Linked DNA regions of Homo sapiens: region 2 is linked to region 1. Evidence: promoter capture Hi-C in 16 types of primary human blood cells and fetal thymus (Javierre and others, 2016). All regions are on one chromosome and are shown on one strand. Each heading gives the region's core, a stretch centred on a gene start or on the middle of the fragment in contact. The rest is flanking DNA. Distances are from core to core; before and after follow the strand shown. Region 1 holds the start of C11orf91 (chromosome 11 open reading frame 91). Region 2 has its middle 3.1 kb from the start of QSER1.

Region 1 (3,920 bases), core at 702-3,201:
GGTTCAAGCGATTCTCCTGCCTCATCCTCCCGAGTAGATGAGATTACAAATGTGTGCCACCAAGCCCGGCTCATTTTTGTATTTTAGTAGAGACAGGGTTTTACCATGTTGGTCAGGCTGGTCCTCAATGATCCTCTTGTTGGTCAGGCTCCTGACCTCAAATGATCCACCCGCATTGGCCCCCCCAAAGTGCTGAGATTACAAGTGCCAGCCACCACACCCGGCCCCTGGATTTCTTAACTATGTATTCGGTTAAGATTTCTTAACTATGAATACATAGTATTATGTATGTATTCATAGTTAAGAAATCCAGGACTTAGCAAAGCCCAGTTTTTCTAGGGACTGTCTTCCTTCCATGGCTATGAGAAAGGGTGCATTACAGTGTGTCTGATGAACTGAAGACCATTTCCATGGCCACACGGACCTAAGCATTTAGGTTATTTCATACTTCCCTTCTCTGTGTGGCAGGGGAAGCCAACTTAAGCCGTTATATACGATAGTTGGAATGATCTTTTTAGAACTATCTGCCCTTCTCCAGTGGTCAAGGACAAGCCTTAGCCAAAACAAGTGATGGGAAAGACAAAGTCTGCAGGACAACCTACCGCTACTGAAAGTTCTACTTTGCAATAGGTCCTTCTTGGAGTACAAGGCATTTAACAACTTTACCCTCCAACAGGGAGGAGTCATTCAGCTCGTAGGCTGAGGGATCCTGCCCGCATCAGCACACGTGGTCCAGAGCCCTAAGACTTCAGACGTAAGACCAGATATCAGCCCAGGATCCTGGTGAGAGAACTACCGGCGCCAAGGCCACAGAGTCCCAGGGGGGCTGCCCCCCAGCATTGAGAAGTGGAGTGTCCCAAAGCTGCCCTGGAAACGGCCTTGGGCCTTGTGGTTCTTGCACAACTCCCACCTCCCCCTACAGACAACTGACAGTCACCTTACTTCACCTTCCCCCCATGGAGAGCCCCGGTTTAGGACCGAACATTAAAGCTTAGGGACTGTCTGTGGTGGGTGGAGCTCCAGAGTACAGGGTAGGAGGATGACTGTGCAGGAGGATTAAAGTTCAGGACGGGGTGGTGGCGGATGGAGTTCCAGGTGTGGAGGCTCAGAGTCCAGATGACCCAAAGGGTTTAGGACGGAGGGAGGATGGAGTTTGGGACTAAGAGGCTCATGAAGTTCAGATCTGTGGTGGGGGGAGGAGTCGGTTAAGTCCAGGATAAGGGAGTCTGGGTGCTAGGGGATAGATTTTGGATCTGGGACTACTGGGGGCTGGAGTCAAACCAGGCTACATTTCGGGTCGGGGCACGGAGCCAAGGAGGGAGCTAGGGCAGGCTAAGGCTGGGCTCGGTGGCCCTGGCGAGGTCACGCACAGCTCTGGGAGTCGAAGCCGTCCCCAGTGATGGTGAGCAACTCCAGCTCCTTAATCCGGATCTCCAGCTCGCAGAGCTCCTCCGGGTGGGAGGCAGAGGCGAGCCTGGGGGTCGAGGGGCAGGGGACCAGGGGCGAGGCAACCACCTCAGGCCCCGGCGGCGGTGAGTAGAAGAAGCGCAGAGGCTCGTAGGGGATGGAGGCCAGGCCGGAGGGCCAGGGCGAGGGCCAGGGGCGCTCGCTGGAGGGACCCAGGCCGGGTGGTGGCGGGGGCGGGGGCGCCGGGGCGGGGAGCGCCTGGGACAGGGACCGGGCCCCCGCCGCCCCGCCCACTGGCGCCCCGCCCGCCTTCAGCGGCACGAAGAGCTTCTTCCAGATGTTGAAGTCGCTGAGCGGGGACGAGGAGATGCCGCGGTCGTACAGGGACGGGAAATAGAGGGGCGGAGCCGACCGCTGGCTCATGGTGGGGCTGTGGCTGCCGCGCCGCCCCTTTGGCATCGTTTGAATGAGGGTCTGCGTGGGAGGAACCCCGCGCCGGGAGACGCGCGCTCAGGCCCCGAGTCGCCGGGGTTTCGAGGTTCCACAAGCCCCGCCCCGATGGAGCGCGGCCCCACCCTTTCGCCTCAGCCCGGCCCCTAACAGGCGGGGTTCCAAAGCCCGGACGACCACGTCCCGGAACGCGGCCCCGCCCACCTCGGCTGGCCGCACCCCGCAGTTAGAAAGCCACGCCCCCTGGCTCGCCTCGCCTCGCCTCCCGTCCCTCGACTCCGCCCACCGCCTCGCTCTTGCTCTGCGACCCCGCTGGCTTCCGTTGTCATATCCCAGCATACCCTCATCCAGAACAGGCAGCGGGCCAGGGCTGCAGAAGAAAGCTTACTTCAGGCTTCCTCTCTTTCTCCCATGAGGGAGAAAAGTATTTCCTAGAAACCTGGCCCCTGCACCAGCAGACTTACCTCATTGCCTCACTGGCCGCGCCCACAGCAAAGAAGTCTGAGAAAATCAGTGTCTGATTTTTCATCCACTACTGTGGGAGGCAGACAAAGGAGAAGAGGATTGATTGGGAATGGCTGTTAGAGCCAACCTATGTATCTGCCAAACGTTAGCAGTGTTGAGGAAGATTCTAGAAAAGGGGATCCTCATCTGGTTTGTAATAGACCTGAAGGAGTGTTTTCAGTGAAATGCAGTTTAGTTCTCTTCCAAACACAGATATCACCAGGAGCTAACAGGCAACGAGCTAACCACCAAAAGGAAATCCTGTCCGCCCTACCTCAAATACTTCACCCATTGCTTATGAGCGATTTGGACATTTTGTCCAAAGGACATGACAGCTCATTTATGTGAGTAACCTGTATTAGCCATAGACTGAGGGGAAATAACTAATACATTTTCTTGAGAGCCTCTGCCTAATGATCACTGGTATGACTAGTGATGGGTGGAGGGCAGTTAAAGAGTCAGTATCAGCTTCACAAGTTAAATATATATATGCATATGTATCTGCACACACAGTGCAAAGTGTGTGTGTGTGTGTGTGTGTGTGTGTAGCAGCAAAGTGGAGAGAGTCAGATATTCAAGCTGGGTAGCCTTGGACAAGTTGCTTGACTTTTAAGTAGGTTTTCCATAAAATAGAAATAAGAAAACCAGGCTGCCTCATAGGGTTGTGATCAAACAGAAGACGGAACAGTGTGTGTGTGAAACACTTGAACTTGGACACTTTGTCCAAACACAAGAGGCAGCTGTCCCTACTAAGGGGCATGTCTGAAACTGGGAAGCTTTTTCTTCCCACACTGAGCTTCCCACACTTAGTTGTCACACGCAGTATTTGCTCTCTGACTTTGGCAGCCACCCATCATTGTTTATTCATACAAGTGATCACTAGGCTGAGGCTCTCAAGAAAATGTATTTCCCCTCAGTCTATGGCTAATACAGGCCATGTGCGATAGCTCAGCACCCAGCCTGTAATCCCAGCACTCTGGGAGTCTGAGGTGGGATCTCTTGAGGCCAAGAGTTTGAGAACAGCCAGGGGCAACATAGCGAGATTCTGTCTCTATAAAATAATTTAAAAAATTAACCAGGTGTGGTGGCATTTGCCTGGAGCCACTCAGGAGCTGAAGTGGGAGGATTTCTTGAACCAAGGAGGCTGAGGTTGAGGCTGCAGTGAGCCACAATCATAGCACTGCACTCCAGCCTGGGTGACAAGGCAGGACCCTGTCTCAAAATAAATAAAATAAAATAAAATAAAAAATACCCTTATCTTCCATTAGTTTCCCCCACATATTTAACTTCCCATAATTTACTGCCCAAGAAGCTCAAACCTCTTTTCCTTTGTCTTATCACTTTTCTACAATCGCCCATTGTTAAAATTGTATATAAGCTCTCAAGCCACTTCTTTGGGTTTTCACTTTGTTTCTGTAAGAACCCCATGTACCTGCGTAATAAACTTTGTCTTCTGTTAATCTGTCTTTGTCAGTTTAATTCTCAGGCCCCAGGCTCTGAACCTAAGAGATTAGAAGAAAAATTTTTTCACCCCTACAGAACCACAGTAATGGTAAGAA
Region 2 (4,469 bases), core at 742-3,241, 810 kb before region 1:
TCAAGAACGAAGCCACAGACCCTCGCAGTGAGTGTTACAGTTCTTAAACGGAGGGTGTCCGGAGTTTCTTCCTTCTGGTGGGTTCGTGGTCTGGATGGCTTCAGGAGTGAAGCTGCAGACCTTTGCGGTGAATGTTACAACTCTTAAGGCGGCGCGTCTGGAGTTCTTCGTTCCTCCCCGTAGGTTCGTGGTCTCCCTGGCTTCAGGAGTGAAGCTAGACCTTCACGGAGAGTGTTACAGCTGATAAAGGCAGTGTGGACCCAAAAAGTGACCAGCAGCAAGATTTGTTGCAAGGAACGAAAGAACACAGCTTCCACACCGTGGAAACGGATGCCAGCAGGTTGCCACTGTTGGCTCGGGCAGCCTGCTTTTATTCTCTTATCTGGCCCCACCCATATCCTGCTGATTGGTCCATTTTACAGAGAGCCGATTGGTCCACTTTACAGAGAGCTGATTGGTCCGTTTTGACAGGGTGCTGATTGGTGCATTTACAATCCCTGAGCTAGACACAAAAGTTCTCCACGTCCCCACTAGATGAGCTAGATACAGAGTGCCCATTGGTGTATTTACAATCCCTAAGCTAGACGTAAAGGTTCTCCAAGTCCCCACCAGACTCAGGAGCCCAGCTGGTTTCACCCAGTGGATCCCGCACCAGGCAGCAGGTGGAGCTGGCTGCCACTCCCACGCAGTGCTCCACACTCCTCAGCCCTTGGGCCTCCGATGGGACTGGGTGCCATGGAGCAGCGGGGCGGCGCTCATCGGGGAGGCTCCGCCCCACAGGAGCCCACAGCAGGGGGTAAGACTCAGGCATAGCAGGCTGCAGGTCCCGAGCCCTGCCCCCCGGGGGAGGCAGCTAAGGCCCGGCAAGAAATCGAGCACAGCAGCTGCTGGCCCAGGTGCTAAGCCCCTCACTGCCCAGGGCTGGCGGGGCTGGCTGGCAGCTCCGAGTGGGGGGCCCGCCGAGCCCACGCCTACCCAGAACAGGCACTGGCCCGCAAGCGCCCCGGACAGTCCCGGTTCCTGCCCCCGCCTCTCCCTCCACACCTCCCCTCAAGCTGAGGGAGCCGGCTCTGGCCTTGGCCAGCCCGGAAAGGGGCTCCCACAGTGCAGCAGTGGGCTGAAGGGCTCCTCAAGTGTGGCCAGAGTGGGCGCCAAGGCCTAGGAGGCGCCGAGAGCAAGCGAGGGCTGCCAGCACGCTGTCACCTCTCAGGACTACAGGTGCACCACCATGCCTGGCTAATTTTTATTTCCTTTCTGATGTTTTAATTTAATTTATGATGTTGACCTAAGAGATGGAAACCAGGGCTGCTCTGGCAAAGACAGGGCTTATAGTTTCCCTCAATGCCAGAAGAGAAGGGAAAAATTTAAAACCATATCTTCTTTCCCTGTTCAAATCACTTCTCACACACATATTCCTTGTATTCTCAGTGAAACCACAAACTTGACCTTCTTGGATCTTTCTTCTTGATGGTTGGTCTATTTATAACATAGGAATGTGTGGACTTACTGACTACATTTCTAGTTAGGCAACCCCAAATTCTGCATTTCCCAACAAGCTAATGAACAAGGCCACCTCAGTGAAGATGGGGTTTCCTGGGTCTCACCCCAACTGATTCCCTCCATCATCTTAAAGCAAGTCACTCAATACCAGGCCTCAGCTTCCTCAACTACAAAAGGAAGGCAATGAACTATGTACTCAATAGAACTACAATCTTTCTACCAGTTGAAATACTTATTTTCTTTTTTTTTTTTTTTTGAGAGGCAAAATCAATTACTTCCTTTTCAATTGTCCTCTGGTGCTTTATTCCAATTTCTATTATATTTAACACTATCCTATTGCATTACAATTAGTTGTGTGTCTGCCTCTTTTCCTCATAAATTACAGGTTCCATAAAGACAGGCGTTGTATTAAATTTACCCTCGTATTCACAGCATTTAGTATTATGCTTGGCACTGTATTAGGCTCTAAATACATATCTATTGAATGAATAAATATGTAAGCTACTTTAAAAATGCCCATTCAGGCTGGATGCGGTGGCTCATGCCTGTAATCCCAGCACTTTGGGAGGCTGAGGTGGGCATATCACGAGGTCAGGAGATCGAGACCATCCTGGCTAACACGACGAAACCTCGTCTCTACTAAAAATACAAAAAATTAGCTGGGCGTGGTGGCGGGCACCTGTAGTCCCAGCTACTCGGGAGGCTTAGGCAGGAGAATGGCGTAAAACCCAGGAGGCAGAGCTTGCAGTGAGCCGAAATCGCGCCACTGCACTCCAGCCTGGGCGACAGAGCAAGACGCTATCTAAGAAAAAAAAATGCCCATTCAGAAGTTCCAATTAGTCATTTACATATTCCTTTCCTTTCCCCCCCAAAAAAGAAAAACCAAAACACTCTATCTCAATTCTAAAATCGGGGCAAGATTTGAAAATTGATTAAATCAAAGGCAGTTTGGTTTTAAGATGAATTGGAGTAAATCCTACACTTAAGAAGGAATCTTCCAGCACTTTGGAAGGCTGAGGTGGGAGGATTGCTTGAGGCCAGGAGCTCAAGACCAGCCTTGGACACCATAGCGAGACCCTGTCTGAAAAAAAACAAAAAAAACTCTTTCCTTCTTCCTCACCTCCATCTCCCACTTCCTTCTGAGTTTATTGTCTAGAGTTAGTCATGCCTTAGAACATGCCCATGAACAATCTCCCCACATTTTCCACCCTAACTCCCATCCCATTAGAAAATCAATACGTATTTCACAGGTCGCGGTGGCTCACGCCTGTAATCCCAGAACTTTGGGAGGCTGAGGCAGGCGGATCATCTGAGGTCAAGAGTTCGAGACTAGCCTGGCCAAAATGGTGAAACCCGTCTCTACTAAAAATACAAAAAAATTAGCTGGGCGTGGTGGCATGCGCCTGTATTCCCAGCTACTCAGGAGGCTGAGGCAGGAGAATCGCTTGAATCCGGGAGGCGGAGGTTGCAGTGAGACGAGATCACCCCACTGCACTCAAGCCTGGGCGACAGAGCGAGACTGTCTGAAAAAACGAACAAACAAAAACACGGGACCAACAATGCTCATTCTAGAGTTTGACATTACCTAGATCAGACTTGAAGCAGCTTGGTTACGAATCATTTGAGAGATCCCGAAACGTTCACAGAGCTGGAAGTATATTTTCAGTAGGGAAGAAGACATTCTTCAGATAGTATCATCAAGTGTACAAAATTTTTAAAAGATTTATTTACATATATCAAAGCATCACATTGTACCCCATAAATGTATGCAATTATGATTTGTCAATTAAAAATAGTATTGATAAAAAATGTAATGATGTTATTTGTAGACATGTAACATTTGAAAATAAATATAATTGTACTGATTTAGAGTGAACTAAGGAAATTTCATTTAAATGGCAAAGGAACATATGGTGACAGAGTAATATTACTAAAAATACTCACTAGAATTTTCCCTTAATATCTTTCCCTGATTTATGTGACATAAACAAACTACATAATGGTGTGAGGGACTATAAAGGTTTTATTGCCACTTGTTTGGTATTGCCTGCGTAACTCACTCTGAGTGCCAGTTGTGGGTATCTCAAACTAAGTGTCATAAAACATTTATAGCATGCCACTCCATTTCCTATACTTTTCATAGAGACAAAACTTTAGCGCTCACAAAAGTACTTATAAATATAATAGCTAGTTGTGAAAACTTTTTAATTTAGATCCCACATTTCCAGTTTGCAGGAAGAAAAATAAATGTAATGAAGATTTACGTTACTTCTCTGCATGAACTCAGATTAGTTCGCAAATTCCTTTTCAAAGAAAAACCACTTTTCAAAGATATCCTCAGTAAATGCATTTTGTAATTAACATAAAATTGGCAAAGTCGCTGTGCCTACACGTTTGAATTCATGTGTAAATAACGACTACTCACTTCCTTGCTTCCCCACCCGGGGACCAGGCTCCAAGCATCACAGGTGCAGAAAGACTTGCAAAAAGGAATGAATAGGAACAAAAGGATGTAGGCGCCAGGAGGAAAACAGGATCTTCCAGAACAAAATTAATCTCGCAAGGCATAGCAGATCCAACACCAGATTATTACCAAAGTTTAAACTTTTTCAATGGTCATCAGAGATAGCGTATCAAGTTTATTAGGTCTTTCACTACGGCTGATTTGCTTAAACCTTTATGTTATGCTTATCTTGAGGGATAGATTTCTGTGCTAAGCACATAATAGGTGTTAAACCAATATTGATTTTTAAAAGGAGGTGGTCATTAAATAGAAATTTTACTGTTATTTTAACCTTTAAATTTATGGCCCAAGGGCCAAACGATGATTTGTACGATTCCCTAGTTTCAATACTTGTGAGTTATTACAAGAAATACAACTCTGCTATGCAACAGAAGAACCGCAAATAGTCATTAAATTACCGCACACCAAGCAGCTTGGAGATCAGATAGGAAATGTTTGGGGAGAG

The links. The method cuts DNA at HindIII sites, captures the fragments that hold promoters and counts their contacts. A CHiCAGO score of 5 or more calls a contact.
Region 2: a fragment that was not itself captured here is called in contact with the fragment with the promoter of C11orf91 in region 1 in 1 of 17 cell types (total B cells); the score reaches 5.0 in total B cells.

The regions. Positions count from the first base shown.
Region 1 is chr11:33,698,875-33,702,794 of GRCh38, forward strand. It overlaps C11orf91 (chromosome 11 open reading frame 91), which reads right to left and starts at 1,952. Exons shown (of 2, transcript NM_001166692.2): 1 at 1,371-1,952. The coding sequence starts at 1,866. RefSeq lists silencers at 1,618-1,707, 1,888-2,127. The HindIII fragment of the contact is 1,250 bases long and covers 989-2,238 here.
Region 2 is chr11:32,887,516-32,891,984 of GRCh38, forward strand. No RefSeq gene overlaps it. Among named protein-coding and RNA genes, the nearest start is that of QSER1, 3.1 kb to the right of the region's middle. RefSeq lists an enhancer at 3,647-4,221. The HindIII fragment of the contact is 5,575 bases long and covers 1-4,469 here.